4 separate regions of the Homo sapiens genome follow, and all the other regions are linked to region 2. The links are contacts of gene promoters, found by promoter capture Hi-C in blood cells and fetal thymus (Javierre and others, 2016). All regions are on one chromosome and are shown on one strand. Each heading gives the region's core, a stretch centred on a gene start or on the middle of the fragment in contact. The rest is flanking DNA. Distances are from core to core; before and after follow the strand shown. Region 1 holds the start of LOC105369690 (a long non-coding RNA gene). Region 2 holds the start of GYS2 (glycogen synthase 2). Region 3 has its middle 44 kb from the start of ABCC9. Region 4 overlaps CMAS (cytidine monophosphate N-acetylneuraminic acid synthetase).

Region 1 (4,971 bases), core at 2,073-4,572, 480 kb before region 2:
CATCAGCATACAAATAATATTGCATCAACTTTAAATTTTGAGAGCTATTCAATAACAAAGCATGAAAAGGTTCTACACTGGGAATGTCACCAATGAAATGTGGACAAACCAACTTTCTTTAGTACTGTATTTAGTAGAACTTTCCCAACCAGTTCAGGCAGATAAAAGCACCAGGTTATCAAAGGTGACACATTCCTAAAAAAAAAAAAAAAAAAAAAAAAAAAAAGCTTTTAAACTTGGAAAAAGTAATTTGCATCAGTATATAGCAAAGAACCAATGACCAAATGCAGGAGAGTACAACAGAGATTATTAAGACTTCACACATGGTCCTTTAAATAATTAGAAAATCATTAACATGCTTAGCTTGGCAATTCAGATAACAGTAATTACTTTAGCCAGTACCCATCCCAAAAGGTACAGGATATTTTGGACATTCTTTCACTTGCTCATTCAAAAATATTTCCTGGTGTCCTGGGTTGAGAAGCAGGCTTGGGGAGGGAGATTAATGTCCATGATGTTTGTGAAGGCAGGCTCCTGGGATCGCACTTGTAGATGGAAAACGAAGGAGGAGGATTGTGGAGAGAGAGAGGAGATGGTTCCTATACAGCCTCGGTTGACTCACAGAGAGCGCTGAAGCTAGCCTGGCCTCTCAGCTGTTGTCCATTCTTGGGGTAATGAAGCAGGGCTTTTATCCTCTGCCTCCATCCAGTCACTGGATGTGGGCTACTCCCAGAAAGGGAGTAACCTTAGGTGAGGCAGCGCTGAAGAGGCCTGACAGCTGAGGCTTGTCTACTGACAACACTCCCAGCAGCTGAGGGGGATAAGACCTCCAGGCTCAAGGGTGAGCTCTACGGCCCAACACAGCGTCCACCACACTGACGCAATATGATGCCGACAAAATAAACAGGCTTTTCGATCTTCTGTAACTTGAAGGTAAGTATTAAGCCAATGAACACTTCGATATATACTTAAGGCTGTGAAGGAAGAGAGGGCTTTAAGAGAAGAAAGGGCAGGGGTTGGGGGAAGGAGAGGAGGGCTAACGCCTGGCTGTCTGCTGGTTTCATAATCAGGGCGGAGTGGCAGGAAGGATACAAAAGAGAACTATAACACTTGGACTGGGAATTGTTTACCTTATTCTGTGGGCAGCATGGAGTCACTGAGACTTTTACAAAGGGAACAGAAAGCATAAAGTAGACAAGTAAAGTGGTAGTGGAATAGATTGGATTCGAAGGAAATTAAGCATTTCAAAGTCAACACAGGAATCAAGCATTTTCTTTTGAAGGTCATCTCCAATTTGGTCCTGTGTTTCTGGTCTCATTTCTTACCATTACCTTGTAGATCCTTTCAGGCCTATACAGATAACGACCTCTTCCATTATCTGAACACAAACGTTAACTCCATTTTTTTTGATATTGTCCTTTGACACCAATGAAATTTTCTAGTTTAAGATCCAGCTCAAATTTCACCTCCACTTGAAAAGATTTTTCTGCTTCAAGCCCTTTAAGGGTCTCTCTCTACCCTTATTTTCAGGATAAAGCAAAAATGTCTTAATGTAACTCACAAAAACCAGTACAATCTGGCCTCTGTTTATTCACCTCGCCAGACTCATATCATCCCATTCCCCTATATTTGTTTGCCGAGGTGGTGAGCTTGTGCCTTATTTGGCTTTTTATTAGGTTGGGGCAAAAGTAATTGTGGTTTTTGCCATTAACCACAATCACATTTGCACCAACCTAACAATTTCAGGAAATGTAATAATCTTTGACATGCTAAATGCTATTCATTGTTAAATTGAGAAAAGGTAAACAATCTTCACAAATAAAATTACTTACTTTTGATAGCTCTTCCCCTTCAATGAATCATGGTTTAATACAGAGTATTGGCTGGGTGCAGTGGCTCATGCCTCTGCTCCCAGCTCTTCAGGAGGCCAAGGCGGATGGATGGCTCCAGCACAGGAGTTCAAGACCAGCCTGGTAATGTAGTGAGACCTCATCTCTACAAATAAATACATACATAATAATAAAGAATATTTCTTTTCTAAGTTCACTGATGTACTAAGAAATTTAAGACTTCTGCACTATAATTTGTAGCCAATCATCCCCAGAGCCTTAAATGCTCATGTTAATCATAAATATGATATATGTTTCTTCTATGTGAAATATTTCTTCTAAGTAAAACATTAGTACATTTGCATCTGTAGAATTAGAAGGGACAATTAAAAGGGACAATAGAGATCATCTATTATAAGCGCCTCAGATTATAGTCAAATAAACTGGCTTGTGGGTGTTAAATGTCTTGAAAAGCATACCTTAGCTAGTTCGTGACAATGTTGAAGCTAGAAACTAAGTTCATTTATTGCCAATAATAATAAACATTTAGAGGCCCTACACGAGCCAGGTACTCCTCTAGACATGCTATATATATTATCTCATTGAATCTTCACAATCCTGTGAGGTGATACTGTTATTATCTTCAATTAGAGCAAAGAAGCTTAGCCACGGAAAGGTTGGCTAAACTTGTCCAAATTCCAAAATGCAAAATAATTAGAATAAAAACCCTCAAAAAGATCTTTCTCTTTTCACCTTCTCAAATTTCCAAACCCAGATGTATCAACATATATAATGCATTAAAAATTAAACTCCTTCCATTAGAAAGTAGACTCCATCTTCTGACCCCTTGATCTGAGCTGGATGGTCAGTAACTTGACTCACTTTGACCAGTAAAATTGAGGCTGAAGTAACATTGTGTGACTTCTGGGGAAGTTATCAAAAAGTGTTGCAGCATCCAATCTCACCTTCCAGCTGCTCAGAGACTGTCACGTTAAGACACTTAAACTAGTTTCCTTAAAGTTGAAAGACTGCAAGAAGAGAACAGCCCAGACACCAGTAGATATATGTGAGGGAAATTGACTTGGACTGTTCATCGATTCCCACCATCAACTGACTGCAACCACAGAGTGAGACCATGAAAACAACTCTACTTACCTTAGCCCAAATTGTTGATCCACAGAATTATGAAAAAGTAGTTATTTTTTCAAGTAAACGTGCTTTGAAGCTATTTGTTATATAGTAATTGATAATTGACAGAGCATATGATACTGTCGTTTGATCGATTTACCATGGAATTTCTCTTCCTATCATTTTGTTTTTAACTTTTCTGAGTCTTTAAATTTAAAGTAGGTTTGTGGTAGCCAGCACACAGGTAAGTCTAGTTTTTTTTTTTAATTTAATTCAACCTGACAGTCTCTGGTGTGTTTAGAACATTCATATTTAAAGGGATTATTGATATAGTTGCATTAAAATTTACCATCTTTGTAATTGTTTTCTGTTCATTGCATTTGTTCTTTATTTCTTTCTCCTGCTGTTTTTCTGACTTCTCTGGGGTTAATTAAGCATTTTGTATGATTTGATTTTATATCTTTACTTGGTATATCATATATCTTTTATAAAAAATTTAGTAATATCCCTAGGGTTTACAATATATATTTTAAAATAAGTCCACCTTCAAATAACATTATATAACTTTATAAGACTACTCCCGATTCATTCCTCCCATTCCTTGTGACATTGGTGTCAATTATTTCACTTGTCCATATGCTATAGTCACCCTATACATTGTTACTATTATTACTTTAAATAGCTATCTTTTAGATCAATTAAAAATATTATTTTAATTTCACTTGTTCCTTTTCTAATGCTTTTCTTTGTATAATTTTTGACCTATATCATTTTTTTTTCTCTCTGAAGAATATCTTTAACATTTTTGCAGGGCAGGTCTGCTGGCAATGAAATCCCTCAGTTTTCTCCACAAAAGGCTTTATTTTTCACCGTTGAAGGAAAATTTTGCTGAATATAGAAATATAGGTTGACAGGGTTTGTTTCAGCATTTCAAAGATTTCACCTCACTCTTCTTGCTCACGTGTTTCTGAAGCCAAATCTGATATAATCTGTATCCTTAGTTCTGGTTTGTTTTTTTTTTTTTCTCCTTCTGGCTTCCTTCAAGATTTTCTTTGTCTTTGATTTGCTGCAGTTTGAATATGAAATGCCTGGTTGTAGGATTTTATTTTTAATTGTTTGTTTTGGACTTCTCTGAGCTTCCTGGATTTGTAGTTTGATGATACCGTTATTATCTTCAATTAGAGCCAGGAAGCTTAGCCACAGAAAGGTTGGCTTTGGTGTTTGTCATTAGTTTTGGGAGTTCTTAGCCATGTATTATTTCAAATATTTCTTCTGTCCTGTTCTATTTCTTATGCTTCTGGTATTCAGTTATACCTTTTGATATTGGCCCACAGTTCTTGCATATTGTATTCTTTTTTAAAATTTATTTTCCTTCTGTTTTTCAGTTTGGGAACTTTTAAAATTGAGCAATATTCTGGCCGGGCGCAGTGGCTCACGCCTGTAACCCAGCACTTTGGGAGGCCGAGGCGGGTGGATCACGAGGTCAGGAGTTCGAGACCAGCTGACCAACATGGTGAAACCCCGTCTCTACTAAAAATACAAAAATTAGCCAGGCATGGTGGTGCGTGCCTGTAATCCCAGTTACTTGGGAGGCTGAGGCAGGAGAATCACTTGAACCTGGGAGGTGGAGGTTGCAGTGAGCCAAGATCACGCCACTGCACTCCAGCCTGGGCAACAGAGTGAGACCCCGTTTCAGAAAAAAAAAAAAAAAATTTGACCAATATTCAAGTTTACCTATTCTTTCCTTAGCTATCTCAAGTCTACTGATAAACCACCAAAAGGCATTCCTCATTTCTGCTACTGTTTCTTTGATTTCTAGCATTTCCTTTTGATTCTTTCTCATAGTTTCTGTCTGTATTGACATTATCTATCTGATTTTGCATGTTGTGTACTTTTTTCCATCCCTTTTTTTATTAATCATAGTGTAACTGTGTACCCTCATTTTTCTAAGAGATAGTTTTTTACTATCTTTCTTCTTCTCGCTCTCCTTCTTTTCCCCACTTCCTACTTAGGT
Region 2 (5,074 bases), core at 487-2,986:
ACTTAGGTAAGAAATTGGCTCAAGTTTACACAGCAGATAAGTGATGCCACAAGTGCCTAACTCACAACTAAGCAGTTGATACCTGGAACAGATTGCAAATAAATAATTCAGCCTTATCATGTAAGCTGGAGAATATGGATCATTGTGCTCCTGTAGCCTGTGTGACACTGGATGAACCAATCTCAAGGCTCCTGGAACAGAAAACTGCAAACGTGAAACTCTATCACTGTCATCCCATTCTCACTCCTGTCAACATGTCCTTAGATTTGGTTTTACTGGAATGTGCACTTGCAGGACTCTCAGAGGTTATGTGAACATAAGCAAACCATTTTATAAAGGAGACAATCATTTTGATCATTTGGGATCATATGTTTTCTATTTTAGTACTTGATTTTTTTTATTAGCCATATAATCTTTTTCTCACAACGCAAACAAATGGATAACAAACTATGTACTTAAATGTACTTTTCTGGACAAAGATAAGAATCAACTGTGTCACAAAATCATAGATGACATTTATTTATTTTTGTTTTAATTAATTTTTTATTTTATTTTATTTTTTAAGAGAGTGGTTGTTCAGGTTGGCCTTAAACTCCTGGGCTCAAGTGATTCATCCCCCTCAGCCTCCTGAGTAGCTGGAACAACAGGTGTGTACTACCACATCAAGCTGACATATTTAATCTATTTGGCTTACATAGATTTATTAATGTAATATAATGAAATGTGGTTCTGCCCATCTTGAGTCATTAAAATAAGTGTAAGTCTATAAGACCAAGTATATAGAAAATAATTTAAAACCTAATAAAAGGTGCTAAAATAGTATTATCAAGTAACAAATTACAATTCTGATTGTAATTCTAACTTAAAGGATATTTTGTATGAGCTTCAGTTCTGCTGCTTTAGAGAATAATAATGTAAAAATATTGATTTTAGCTACATCTGTAAAGATGGCTCAAAATTAAGCTTGCTTGTGAATGCACCAACTCTCTGTAGGTACAATATAGGATATATGTGTATGGGTGTGTAAATAAATTGGAACATATATATTTACAAACATAGAAACACAAGGGAAAAGCAAACATATGCCATTTATCTGCAGTCTGATCCTGATGATTTTTCTTCCCATGTTTGAACATTTACATTGACTGAATTATTCTTTATCAATTTGATAATATTTGAAGGAAATGTACAAACATGACAAAGATTTATTTTTACTACCTCATTAAAATTATTGACTGATGATTATTGACCAGTCAAAATTATGTTTTTTTTCATGTTACACCCAAAGACATACTCAAATTTATGCTTTTTTATAGGGAAAGTTTTAAGAAAAGTAATTGAGAAAAGGGGGCTCAAGATCTCTGGCTATCACCAAAATTCAATTTGTAAGTGTAGAATAAAATAACTAGGAATATTTTTTAAAAGCTCTAGAAATAGGAATCAAAAGAAAGAAGAATATTTAGGAAATCCAAAGGGATTTAAAGCATAAAAATATGTCCCAATCAGTCTACATGTAATCTAAGGAGGCCTGCAAACTTAATGAGGGGAGTTGCCAATATTGTATCACTTTGGAAATGATGAAATAAGCATTGGTAACTGTATGAATCTAGGAGTCTGGTCAAAAGGACAAGGGCTAAAAGGCTGAACTTGGGTCATGCCCTGCCTATCCCAGGAAGTGCTTACCTATGTCCTGAATCAGAGGGTTTTTCTGTTGACAGCTCTGGATTGTTTGGGTAGATACTGACAGGGCAGATACCGTCCTCACAATACCTGCCCAGAAAGACGAGAAAGAGGAGGAAGAATTCCTCCTTCCACCAGGAATTCTGTGGGAAGCACATAAGATTTCATGCTACTAGTTTATTCCCAAGAGAAGCTACCAAAGCCTGGTAACTCTACCAACTCTAACTTTTGTGCCTGTAAGTTCTCTTCTCCTGGGATTACAACTAATTGAAACAGGAATTCAAAGGAGTCTCGGAGGACTGTAAGAAGAATGCTTCGAGGCCGATCCCTCTCTGTAACATCCCTGGGTGGGCTTCCCCAGTGGGAAGTCGAAGAACTTCCTGTGGAGGAGTTACTGCTCTTTGAAGTTGCTTGGGAAGTGACCAATAAAGGTTTGTACTGCTCCTGAAGGTGGATCAGTACACCTTCACTAGGTGACTGAGGAATGTAGAGTAAGATTTCACAGATAACTCTCTAGTGATAACCAATTGCTAGTGAGTGAGGAAAGCATTTAAACGGAATATATATTTAGGCTACATTTAACCTTGTCTATTACAACAGGCTATGAATACAGACTTGTGTATGTGTTGAAGAGGGAGAAAGTTGAAAATATTAGCCATTGCCATGGAATGTGCATTTAAATTAAAATTTAAAATCCATATTATGACAACATAGAAATAAAAAGTTAATATTTACATTTTTTGTTTTAAAATTTTTCTCAGCAAAATAGTATAATTAAACATTTTATTTTAGGAAGATGTATATGTGATTAGAACCAGTTGGAAACCTCAACTCTACATTCTGTTAGTAATTATATGAAATGCTTAAGAATGTTTCATATTCACAATTAGCTTGGAATTAATGTTTTAATTCAGGAGCTTCTCAAAAGGCAAAATACTGTGCTCCTTTCAGAATGAAAGTAATTTTTTTCTTCAATGCTATGCTTATGTAGGAATTATAAAATAAAGAAAATCAAATTGATAAAACAATTTGCGAGTGAGGTATAACCTCATCTGTGCTGGGTAAGAGAAGGCAAGGTAGAGAACCACAATGTAAATGATTTTGAAAATAAAGACATCTGTAAAATTATAAAACAATTCCTTGTGGGTTTATACTCTCTAGTTTAAAAGTGTCAAGACTATTGAAGGAACATTAGCAAAGAAAAAGTCATGGTTTTGAAGGCTGAGTTCCTCAAGATCTTGAAGAATCAAGCCAACTGATTGCTGGGTAAATGGCAGTGATGACTTGTGTGATTTAAACGATCTGAAATTATGTCATGTGTTGTGATATATAACACATTTATTTTTCATTTTGTGTTTACTATTTCATGTCTATTACAGTAATCTAAAGGATCTGAAATAATAACCAGAATGTGATATATTACTTCCTTCTTTTGGCTAATCAGAGCCAGCATAATCTCAAAATTAAATGCATTATATATGGCATGCATTCTGAAAAATCAGAATTCACCTTATACTAACTGTTCAAAGTTCTCGTGTGTATGCATTCATAAAATCAAAATTAAAAGTCAATTTTGCCTATGTAGAAGTGGACAGAATGCATATAAGAGAACAAAGCACGGTCTTATTCTCTGTAGTTTAGTGAGAAAGAATCTAGGAGGACAGAAACCTTATTACAGAGAAGTGAAGTATTTTATGTGTACCTGTTTCTGTTGTTTCTTTTTAAATTATTTTGTATTCTTTTCCTCAGAGATCTTTATCCTGAAATGAGCATGTGTTTTTAATGTCCTTTTTCTAGTCACAAATTTTTCCAGTCCAGTTTTTAAATATGCCCAAAGTTCCTGGGAACAGAACCATCTCTATCACATGTGAATCCCGGAGTATGCCTTGAAATAAAAGTTTTCTCTAGAGAGTGGGCAGGAGCTCAAGGACATAGCTTATTGGTGGATAAAACTGGAAGGGACTTGTTAGCACTGGGAATCAGTCCAGAAGATCTCTGCACAAGTTCCTGCACCTGAGCAGAGCCCCTTCTGCTTTCCTCTTTTCTCATCATTTAACAAACATTAATGGAGCACTGTTACCTGGGCACTGGGAACACGCCAGTGAAACTAAGTTATTTTATGGATCTTATAATCAGTAGCATGTGTGTTGATCTCAGGGTCTAGAACAGTGCCTGGTACATAGAAAATGCTCAATGGATTTTTTTTTGAAAAAATTTGTTTTTCAACCCCTAAGCTGCCTTTAATACTTATTTTCTATCATTTCCCTTTCAAGGGGAAGGGAAGTGTTTTTGTGGAGAGGTCCCCACAATGTGATTTACACAAGTTGATATCATCTTCAATGTATCTTTATTTTAATATTATCATAGCCTGGTATGGTTTGAGATTTTCATATAGATGGATAATTATTGTGTTTATTCCTAATAATACATTGCCACTATAGTTTCTTTAAATTTAATGATTTGAATTTTTACTTCCCTGCATTTCATAGTAGTGATATGAGGTATCTTAGAGATCATGAATCCCACTCCTCCAGTTCATAGAGCAAATTGATTCGTAGAGGTATTTAATGATCAAGCAAATGGCAGAGTTAGGACCAGGATTTAGGTCTTTTCCAAGGCCAATTCACTTTTTTACTATTATGTAAGAATTAAATATTAAAACCTCAGTTTTCAAAGGAAATGTCCTATAGATGAAAGAACACAGTACTTGCAGTCAAAGGTCTTGGATTTCTGAAACTTTCTGAAAAAGAACCCCTTAAACTGAATAACAGTTTCTTCATGAATAAAATGAATGTTATACTCTCCAGTTATCTTACCATGTTTTCTGGCAAACAAGGAAATGTATTCACATCCAAGAAAACAAAAGGTTTCTTAGGAGAAGAATCCCTTGCTGCCAGAATTTTGCCCATGAACAATGGAAACGTGAAAAACATAACAGATGAGAGAGTCACAGTTAGTTTTGGGTACTAATTCTCAGACTTCAAAATAACCTTTTTAATTTATTAATATTAACCTTGAAATTTATTGCTTTTATTCATTAATCCATTTTATTATTCAGTAAGGATTCATCAAGTGTCTATTAGGTATCAGGCACTGAGAGGCGAGGGAGATAGAGTTAAGAATACAGAACTGATTCTTAATCTTCAAGAATTGACAAATTTGTAGAAGGTAGACATTGAACATACAATACAGTCAAATGTGATGAGTGTGAGACTAAGGGAACCAGGTGTCCTAAGACTATACAGTGTACCGTGGAATGGGGAGTGGTTTCTAACCTAGTTACCTAGAGGTTTGGGAAAAACCTCTCTAATGATGAGATGTTTGAGCTGACACTTGAAGGATAAATAGCTAAAGGGGAGAAAGCGTTCTATGTGAGAGAACTATATATGCCAAG
Region 3 (4,858 bases), core at 55-2,554, 380 kb before region 2:
GAATAAGGGTTAAGAGCACAGGCTGCAGAGCTGAACTACCACATTTTGAATCCTGCCTACTCCATGTGCTAGCTATGGGACTTAGAGCAACTCATTGTCCCTGCACCGAGAGTTTTTGAGAAAATTAAATGGATTAGAACAGTGACTTGAATATAAGAGCCATGCAATCCATGTGAGATCTGATGTTGATGGTGATGATGGCACAAGTGGGCACACTGAAAGTAAACTTGACACCAGTTATGGGAAAATACATTCTAAGTTTGTACATAACTAAGTTCCAGTGCTTGATCTACACCTATTTCAGTGTTCCAATAAAGCACCATGTAAAGTTGATTATTAATGAAATGTCCTTTATCAACTGTATAGTGTTTGCAGTTATATATTATATGTTAACTAAAACTGAGCTCATAAAAATAATTACAACCAAAGAGTTGTTGTTTTCAAACCAAATAGAAACATTCTTTACTTTTAAAATTAAATCCCCAAAGGAGATTTAAATTTCCCATCTTGTGTTGAAACAAATGGCCATCATGCGCACTGTTATTTGTAAGATGAAATGTCCACTCTTTTTGCATAGCAACCAGACTATTTGCATCTGGTCCCTGCCTGCCCATCTAACCTCTCATTCTAATGCCACAGTATCCATTCTCTTGAGTTTACACAGAATCTTTGTTCTGCTTGGTGACACACACACACACACACACACACACACACACCCCTTTGCTTCAGGCAAATGTTTTCCTCAAATATAATTGAGGAGACACCTTCCATGAATCCCCTATTCATGCATTCATTCTTTTACCTAATAGCTCTTGAACACATAATTGTTTTAGGTATCATTCCATGCCCTCAGAGTAAAGGTGACAAACAAGATAGACAAGGTCTCTTCTCTCAAAGATGTGGCACACTAGTGCAAAGAAACGTAATAAATAGGAAAACAGGAAAATAAGTAACATTGGCATTTATATTGGTGGTCAGGGAAGACCTTACTGAGTGAAAATTTGCCAGCTACTAGAACATACATTCCATAATTACAGATATTTTTGTTTATTCTGTTCACTGCTGTATCTCTACTGTCAGGAACATCACTGATTTTCAGTAAACACTTTTTTAATGCAAATGTGAATGCAACAAAGAAGTTTGTGATGAATGCAAAAACAGAGCAGAGTGCTCCAGGCAGAGAAAAGAGCAAGTGCAAAGGTCTTAAATAGGTGGAAGGAGGTTGGCATGTTTGAGGAAAAGAAAGAGAAGAGGAGAGAGAGAGGAAGAGTAGAAGGAAGTGGGGTTAGACAGGGAGACAGGACTCGGCACGAAGGACTCTAGGAAGCCGCTGCGCACAGGAGGAAACTTGAACATACTCTCCTCACAAGTTATCATGTTGTGCTATAATTTCTTGATCTACCCTATTGAGTGTGTTTTTTTCACTTTGTTATTATTATTTGCTCTTTATTTTTTTTTGTAAGCCGCTTTCGTTGGGTTTACAATTTTTTCACTCCTGATTTTGATGTTTAGATAACCCATTTTTAATATTTCCTCATCTGTAATATGTGAACATACACTATAAAATTCATCTAAGGATTGCTTCAACTTTATTCTGTGTTTTGATGTGCAGTGTTTTTGTAAAACATGAAGTATGTTTTTATCATAATTAAGATTTCTTCTTTGAGGTTGGGCGCGGTGGCTCACACCGGTAATCTCAGCACTTTGAGAGGTCAAGGTGGGAGGATCACTTGAGTCCAGGAGTTTGAGACCAGCCTGAGAAACATAGAAAGACCATGTCTCTACAAAAAAAAAAAACCTTAAAAGTTAGCCAGGTGTGGTGGTATGCCTGTAGTCCTAGCTACTTGGGGGACTGAAGCAGGAGGATCACTTGAGCCCAGGAGTTCAAAGTGGCAGTGAACTATGATCACACCAGTGCACTCCAGGCTGGGTGACAGAGTGAGATCCAGACTCTAGGGAAAAAAAAAAAAAAAGATTTCTTTGACAATTAAAGTTTTAAAAGTGTACTTTTAAATCTCCAAGTATATGGACTCTTAATTACCTTGGTTTAATTTTTAATTTTGTTATGGTAAGAAAATGTGCTTCTGCAAGATATATAAATTCTGTGGCACTTGTTGAGATTTGCTTTGTAGCCTAATATGAAGTCAACTTTTATACAGTCATGCTTTACTTAACAATAGAGATGCATTCTGAGAAATTCATCCGTAGCTGATTTTCTAATTGTGTGAACATCGTAGAGTGATCTTCCACAAACCTAGATAGTGTAGCGTCTTACACACCTAAGCTATATGCTATAGTCTATTTCTCCTAGGCTACAAATCTGCACAGCATATTATTATACTGAATACTGTAGGTAATTGTAACACAATGGTAAGTACTAATGTATGTAAACATATCTAAAATAGAAAAAGTACACTAAAAATACAGTATAAAACATAAAAACCGGTAGACCTATTTAGGGCACTTATCATGAATGGAGCTTGCAGGACTGGATTTGCTCTGGGTGAGTCAGTGAATGAGTGATGAGTGAATGTGAAAGCCTAGGACATTATTGTATACTACCGCAGACTTTATAAACACTGTACATTTAGGCTGTACTAAATTTATTTTTTAAATTGTTTCTTCAATAGTAAATTAATCTTAGCTGACTTTTTTACTTTTACAAACTTTTCAATCTTTTTTTAACTTTTTGACTCTTTTGCAATGATACTTAAAATACATTGTATAGCTATACAAAACTATTTTCTTTCTTTATACCTTTAAAAGCTTTTCCTATTTTAAAATTTATTTTACTTTTAAAACTTTTTGGCTAAAAACTAAGACAAAAACACACACATTAGCCTAGGCCTACACAGCATCAGGAGCATCAATATAACTGTCTGCCACCTCCACATCGTGCCCCACTGGAAGACCCATTGGAAGGTCTTTAGGAGCAATAACACCCATGTCATCTTCTATGATAACAATGCCTGCTTCTGGAATAAGAAGGAAGTTCTGAAGGAATTGCCTAAGGATATTTTACAATTAGCTTTTTTTTTTAATAAGAAGAAGTACACTTTGAAGTAACTATAAAAAGTATAGTAAATATATAAACCAGCAAGTCATTTATTATCACTATCAACTATTATGTACTGTACATAATTGTATGTGCTATACTTTTATAGGACTGGCAGTGCAGTAGGTTTACACCAGTATCACCACAAACAGGTCAGTAATGCCTTGTGTTATGATGTTACAATGGCTTCAATGTCACAAGGTGTCACTAGGTGATAGTAATTTTTCAGCTGTATTCTAATCTTATGAAACCATCTTCAAATATGCAATCTGTCATTGACCAAAATGTTGTTATGTGGAGTATGACTGTATATATCCTTTCTGTACTTCAAATAATGTTTCTTTATGTGCAATATAGAAATCAAGTATGTGAACTGTTGTTCAAATCACCTCTTGACTCATTTTTTATCTGTTCTATCAATTACTGAAGGAACTGTTCTAGAGTTTATAATCATGATTGTAGACTTGTCACTTTCTCCTGGTAATTGTGTCAGTTTTTGCTTTTCATATTATTGTAATTTATATATTGTCAGGTGCATATACAGATTTAGAATTAACGTATTTTTCTAATGAATAGCTCCTTTTATCATGGTGTAACAACCCTGTTTACAAATAACAATGCTTCCTCCCACCCAATTGTCTATTTTGTCGCTGCCACTATCACCTGATTAGCGGGCCCACACATATCATTCTGTTTTTCTACTTCCTGTATTTTACTTTGTGTCCTTTCTTCTCTCTTCCTATTGGATAAATGATGATTTTTCAAAATCTCCTTTTATTGTAATTGCACGGTGAGAATGTCAGAGACGTCTAAACCAGAGTGACCCCATCTTGAATAAAGGCTGGAGAAAGCAATACCTGCTGGGTTACATTCCCAGAAAGTTAGGCAGTCTTGATCACAAGATGCTTCTGGTTGAAGAAACGAGTTAATGGAAAAAGGCACTCTCAGTTTAAAATAAGTTTTGCTCGGCCTGGAGCAGTGGCTCATGCCTGTAATCCCAGCACTTCGGGAGGCCAAGGTGGGTGGATCACGAGGTCAGGAGATCGAGACCATCGTGGCTAACATGGTGAAACCCTGTCTCTACTAAAAATATAAAAAATTAGCCGGGCGTGGTGGTGGGTGCCTGTAGTCCCAGCTACTCGGGAGGCTGAGGCAGGAGAATGGCATCAACCCAGGAGGTTCATGCCTTGCAGTGAGCCGAGATCGCGCCACTGCACTCCAGCCTGGGCGACAGAGCTAGACTCCGTCTCAAAAAATAAATAAATAAAAAATAACTTTGGCTCTAAAGATAATAGTACACTCATAAATTCTTCCTGAAATTAATAATTACAAAAGAGAAAACAATACTAACAGTCTGTCACAAGCTAATCACAAGCGTTTATAATAAAGTACACTGTTCTTATCTGTAATATCCGATATAAGCAAGAGTTACATTTGAGGTAGGGGCATTCCTCCTCTTGCTTTCTGAGGACACTCTACTCTGTATTGGAGTAGTTTCTAACAAGCTATTTTAACTTTATTGTACACTGTGACTCACCCTGAATTCTTTCCTGCACAAAATCCAAGAACCTGCCCTTGGGATCTAGGACGAGGCCTCTTTTCCAGAAGTAAGAATAGCTTAAGTCATTATGCTTCAAGTTGATAAATCTGTAATGTTCATATATTATGTGCAGAGGATAAAGATAAGTGGTATCTTTACTCTCCTCTCAGACAATATCTAATTGGTAGAATGCATTAGCTCTCATCTCTGCATTCTACTCACATGTCATTGCTTCTAAATTTAATCTTGCTTTTAAGCACCCA
Region 4 (4,969 bases), core at 1,640-4,139, 460 kb before region 2:
GGAATTTGTTATACATTCCACTAAAATTTTCTTCTAATAAAAATTGGATCTGTCTTTAACAAACATTCTGCAGCATTTATGTCCATTAAATCTTCATGTGTGGTTTAAGGGTTATTCCTGAAGTCTCTAGATCACATGCTCCCAAAGTTTTTCCTGTGCTTCTTATTTTGAGGCTCATATTACCCTTGTAAATACTGCTTTCATACATGATTTATAGTTATTATGCATCTTAATAACTTATCAATTTTAAAATGTTGACATCATCAGACTGTAAGCTCTGCAAGCAGAAAGCCTACAGTTCCCACAACCAGTTCCATGCTGCGTATCATCATAGGTACCTGGTAAGTAAGTGTATTGCTTAATATCCAAGTGAAAAACATTGTTATATTTGATCATGCAAATAAATACAGGTCACAGCACTGTTTGTAATGGTTGCATAGTAATCCTTTTTAGGGATATTCTATTTTTCACAGGACATTTAAGTGGGTTCTTTTAACTTCACTATTGGCCCATTTGTCTCATTTCTTTCCTGGAATTGGAATTTGGAGGAAAAAGTATGTACATTCAATTAGCAGCAAAAACTATTCAGAGTGTAATTCATATGTACTAGAAATTCTGCTAAGTGCTTTACTCATATTATTTTATTAATCCCTTCCAGAGCCCTACGGTAATAGGTACTCTCGATATCTCCAGTTTACAGATGAGGAAACAACATTCATCTTATCACAACTGGCTAATCAGTGGTACAGTCTGACTTCACAGCTTGTGCTAATAATCATTCTACATTTGATACCTATTATCAAACTAACCTCCAGAAAGACTGTCCCAGTTTAACAGTTTGATCAGCAGTGTTTGTTAAAAGAGTTCCTATTTCCCTACAATCATACCCATTTGGAGGATGTGCTTTGTCATTTCTTTAAAAATAAGTAAATAATTAATTCCTGGTCCATTTTACTATGGGTGAATAAAAAGATACCAACCAAGATATGCCACTTCTTTCCAGCACAGGCCCATTTCTTTTCTCCATTCATCTACAACTGCTAGCTTGTCTGATACACTGACTTCCATTTTGCAATCCAGTTTTAAAGAAGACAGCGTCTGCTTTGAACAGGCCCTTTCTGAGATTAGCCTCACCTTAAAAAAAAAAAAAAAAAGGATTGGAGGAAGAAGGGAAAAATTAAAAAGTGAAGAAAACAGAAATCTTTCATAATAATTGACCTTGTAGACAGTCCAAATCACAAACGAGTCATCTTTTGACTTTCTGAAGGTCCAAGTAAGAAAACTGACTGTCGAATTAAAATCATGATGCTTTAAAACAAAGCTCATTTTATTTCTCATAGCCCAATAAAGGTGAGACACAGTATTTTATTTTCTACAATAGAAAGGATTCTATCTACAGGTAAAAATTACAACATATATTGTCTGATACTACTCTAAGATTCTCCTATAATTCAATTTATCCAGAGGAAAGTCTATAACCTCTCTCTTGTGCTGCTTAGCAATACATATTTAGGATTTCTGGTAAATTATAATTATCTTAGCTAGCTTTCATTTAAAAAAATACACTTAAACGTTAAGTTATTTTGAATCAAAAATGTCATTCATAAGAATAAGCTAGATTTTAAAAATCCACAGGATATCGTCCTTTTCTAAAATGGTACACCTATTATCTAGGGAATCTTTCTTGCTGCAAGATCCTTTGGGAAACATTAGATAGCTCCCATTTAAAAGTAGTTATGTTTATATTTACTGAATAAACAAGAAATATTATTTGCTGATTAACAAATTCCTAATTCTACTCATCTAAAACTAAATAGTATAATAATTTTCTAGGCGTATGAAGGCCAAATTTCAGATATTTTAAGAGTTAATACTAAAAATTTAAATCTCTTAATTCCTTGCATGTTCTTTGACCCTGAATCAAAATATTATAAAATACTGCTATATTCAGGGAGCACATACCTCAATACCACTTTTCTTTAATAAACTTATCCCAATAGCATCTTTTACATCATAAGATATTATTTCTTTTTGGTCTCCTGATACATAAATGTGGCCATTGGTGAGACATCCATCAATATTGCAAACCAAAAGTTTTATTTCCTTAAGCTTCTCTTTGCCAAAATAGCCATATCTAAAAGAAACCAAAATAGACCTTTGAGTACAAGTGCAGTACTAATCACTCCCTCTCATCTGGCTAAACCAATACATGAAATGTCACCCTCCATTCAATTATTCAAACATTACTCTCCAAATTTACTTCACATATATATTTTAACATATAGTACAGTAAGTAAAAGTAGTGTGGTCTAGCCAGATAATGTTTCTCACTTTATTGAAGCCATGTAAACACATATTTTACATGTCTTCCTCACATGAACAAAGTAATTACAAAGATCCTAAGATGTCTGAAGTATCAGAAATCAGTATCTAGAAATATAATTATTAAGATTTAGTACAAAGGTTATAAAGGTTTATTTGTTTTTACCTTAATACTCTTTGCTCTGCAATAGGCCAATCAATATCCACATCTATATCCACACTATGTTCAGCTCGCATTTCGTAGTATGCCATTTTTCCACCCTAAAGGTAGTATAAATGTCATGAATACTGTTTTTAATATTCATTCACATATATCAAAACTTTATTATAATACAGAACAATGAATTCATTTCTACAGTACTGAGAAAAATGAATAACCCAGTAAAAATCAGTCACATAAAAATGATTTTTAAATTTATTTTTACTTTTTTATTTTTTCGAGTCAGGGTTTCACTCTGCCTCCCAGGCTGGAGTGCAATGGTGCAATCATAGCTCATTATAACCTTGAAATCTTAGGCTCAAGCAATCCTCCCACCTCAGCCTCCTAAGGATCTGGTACTACAGGTATACAGCACCATGTCCGGCTAAATTTTTAAAAAGTTTTTTGTAGATATAAGATCTTGCTATGTTGCCAAGGCTGGTCTTGGAAACCTGGCCTCAAGCTATCCTCTTGAGGCCTCAAGCTGGCCTCTCAAAGTGCTGGGATGACATGCTTCAGCCACCACGCCCAGCTTTTTTTTTTTTTTTTTTTTTTTTTTTAAGGAGAAAGCTCACACAAAAGAAATAACCTTAACATTTTTCAAATTCTATCTAAACAGTTCAAGTTCCCTATTTAAGAAAATTTCTATTTTAATATTGAAAAAAGCAGAAATATTACATCCTCCAGGTTTCTGACCACAAGGGATTTTGTGGAAATCCCTTAATCATATCCTCCTTTTTTTCAAGAAGTCTCTCCTGTCATCATCCAAAAGCAGTATTAAGGTTTTTGGAACTTCTGTTCTAATTTGCAACTAACAGGCAACACAGGGGAGGAAAAATAACTGTAGCATCTGTTGTACAGAGTTTTCTTAGATCTCTGAGCTACTGATGAAAATGACTAATAGTCATCCAAGTCACATGCAGGCAAAGGCAAGGGCAGTCTCTTGATTCTAGGCAAGGGTCAGCAAGAGAAAGGGTCTTTCTTCTGATAGTAATTATTTGAATGACAAGATCAATTACTGGACAATTTCAATTTCATTTTTTTTTTCAGAATTGTCAGTCTCTTCATAAACCTTGTTTTAATGAGAAACATTTTTCTCCACACTTTAGGAATGGGTTAATCATGGTCCTCCTTAGAAAAAAGCTTAAAAATGGTAGTATCTATGTGTGTCAAATCCAATTTTTCTGAACACTTAAATTTAACTAAACAGCTAGTCTATAGTTTGCCTACACATTGACCAGAAGATTTGTAAAAATGTTTTTCTCTCTTTTGCTCAGAATAATAGTCCCATTAGAATTTTTATTACACAATGGAGAGGTTTCTCTCTCTCTCTTTAAAACCGCTATTTCTTGAGTAACATAAGAACCTGAATCCAAATCCTGACAGTACCATTTATTAGCTGTTTTTGCCTTGAGTCAATTACTTCATATTTCAGTGAGGCAGTTTTCCTCCTCTGTAAAACTGGGTAGAAATGTCCACTTCATTCATTCGCTATGCAGATTACATAAGATAACATATGCAAAGTGTTTCACCTACTCCGAAGTACACAGTAAATAATAAATAATAATGATAACTAAAATTAACAAGTTAAGAAATATATGATGCAACCATGTTGCAGGCTCTAAAATGAGAGAGACATTAAATCTGTTATTTGAAAATGAGAGTCAGGACAGATAAAATGATACATATTCAAGCTTACATAGTAAGAGGCAGTTGACTTAAAGTATAATAAAAAAAAAAAAAAATATATATATATATATATATAAAAAGATTCCGGGTTTCCTGACACCCAGGTTGTAACTCTTTTCACCTCTATGAAATTATTTGTCTTTTTAAAGCAATAGAAGTTATTCAACCCTACAGCCACAATATAACTATAACACAAACATGGATTACGTAGTTTTGAGTGGAATAATATGAGTACCAGGACATGTGTAGACACCCAGTACTTGATTCATTTTTTTATCGTTGTAGCAGAATTCCTTGCATATTTACTGAATGGATTCCAAAGATCACTTTGGGGTAAACCTGCAGGATAAATGCCTCAGATAGCAAATGTTGTTGGCTATTACCTTTCCTCTATAGGTTGATACTTTTCTTTATCATAAAGAAATTGTACCATACTTCTTCCCTAGAACTCAAAGTATGCCTACAAAAGCGCTTAAAAGGGTTATGCAAAATGAAGGTACAAACCTGCAAGTAACCCATCTCTATCAAATGTCTTTTAGCAAAATAAAATGAGCCATTTTCATATAATTCTCCATCCCAGTCTTGTCGACGAGGCCGTTTAGCTGGATTTAAATTCAGAGGTTCGGTCACTTCACGAACTAAAAGCAAAAAGTTAGAGTAAGTCCACGTTGCCCTGAATATAGAAAGTGTTAATTTAGTAACTAAAAAAGTTAATAAAAATGAACTCAGAATGCAGAGCATTTCTTTATCTAGATAAAG

What was found. The method cuts DNA at HindIII sites, captures the fragments that hold promoters and counts their contacts. A CHiCAGO score of 5 or more calls a contact.
Region 1: a fragment that was not itself captured here is called in contact with the fragment with the promoter of GYS2 in region 2 in 1 of 17 cell types (naive CD4 T cells); the score reaches 5.0 in naive CD4 T cells.
Region 3: a fragment that was not itself captured here is called in contact with the fragment with the promoter of GYS2 in region 2 in 2 of 17 cell types (naive CD4 T cells and total CD4 T cells); the score reaches 5.9 in naive CD4 T cells.
Region 4: a contact is called between a fragment that was not itself captured here and the fragment with the promoter of GYS2 in region 2, in 3 of 17 cell types (total CD8 T cells, total CD4 T cells and naive CD4 T cells). The highest score is 5.5, in total CD8 T cells.

What each region holds. Positions count from the first base shown.
Region 1 is chr12:22,078,348-22,083,318 of GRCh38, reverse strand. It overlaps LOC105369690 (a long non-coding RNA gene), which reads left to right and starts at 792. Exons shown (of 5, transcript XR_931423.4): 1 at 792-933. The HindIII fragment of the contact is 1,659 bases long and covers 2,493-4,151 here.
Region 2 is chr12:21,601,509-21,606,582 of GRCh38, reverse strand. It overlaps GYS2 (glycogen synthase 2), which reads left to right and starts at 1,736. Exons shown (of 16, transcript NM_021957.4): 1 at 1,736-2,111. The coding sequence starts at 1,991. The HindIII fragment of the contact is 12,472 bases long and covers 966-5,074 here.
Region 3 is chr12:21,983,009-21,987,866 of GRCh38, reverse strand. No RefSeq gene overlaps it. Among named protein-coding and RNA genes, the nearest start is that of ABCC9, 44 kb to the right of the region's middle. The HindIII fragment of the contact is 2,928 bases long and covers 1-2,768 here.
Region 4 is chr12:22,058,446-22,063,414 of GRCh38, reverse strand. CMAS (cytidine monophosphate N-acetylneuraminic acid synthetase) reads right to left here. Exons shown (of 8, transcript NM_018686.6): 4 at 4,715-4,848; 5 at 2,489-2,583; 6 at 1,963-2,134; 7 at 981-1,134. Among named protein-coding and RNA genes, the nearest start is that of CMAS, 15 kb to the right of the region's middle. The HindIII fragment of the contact is 1,555 bases long and covers 2,112-3,666 here.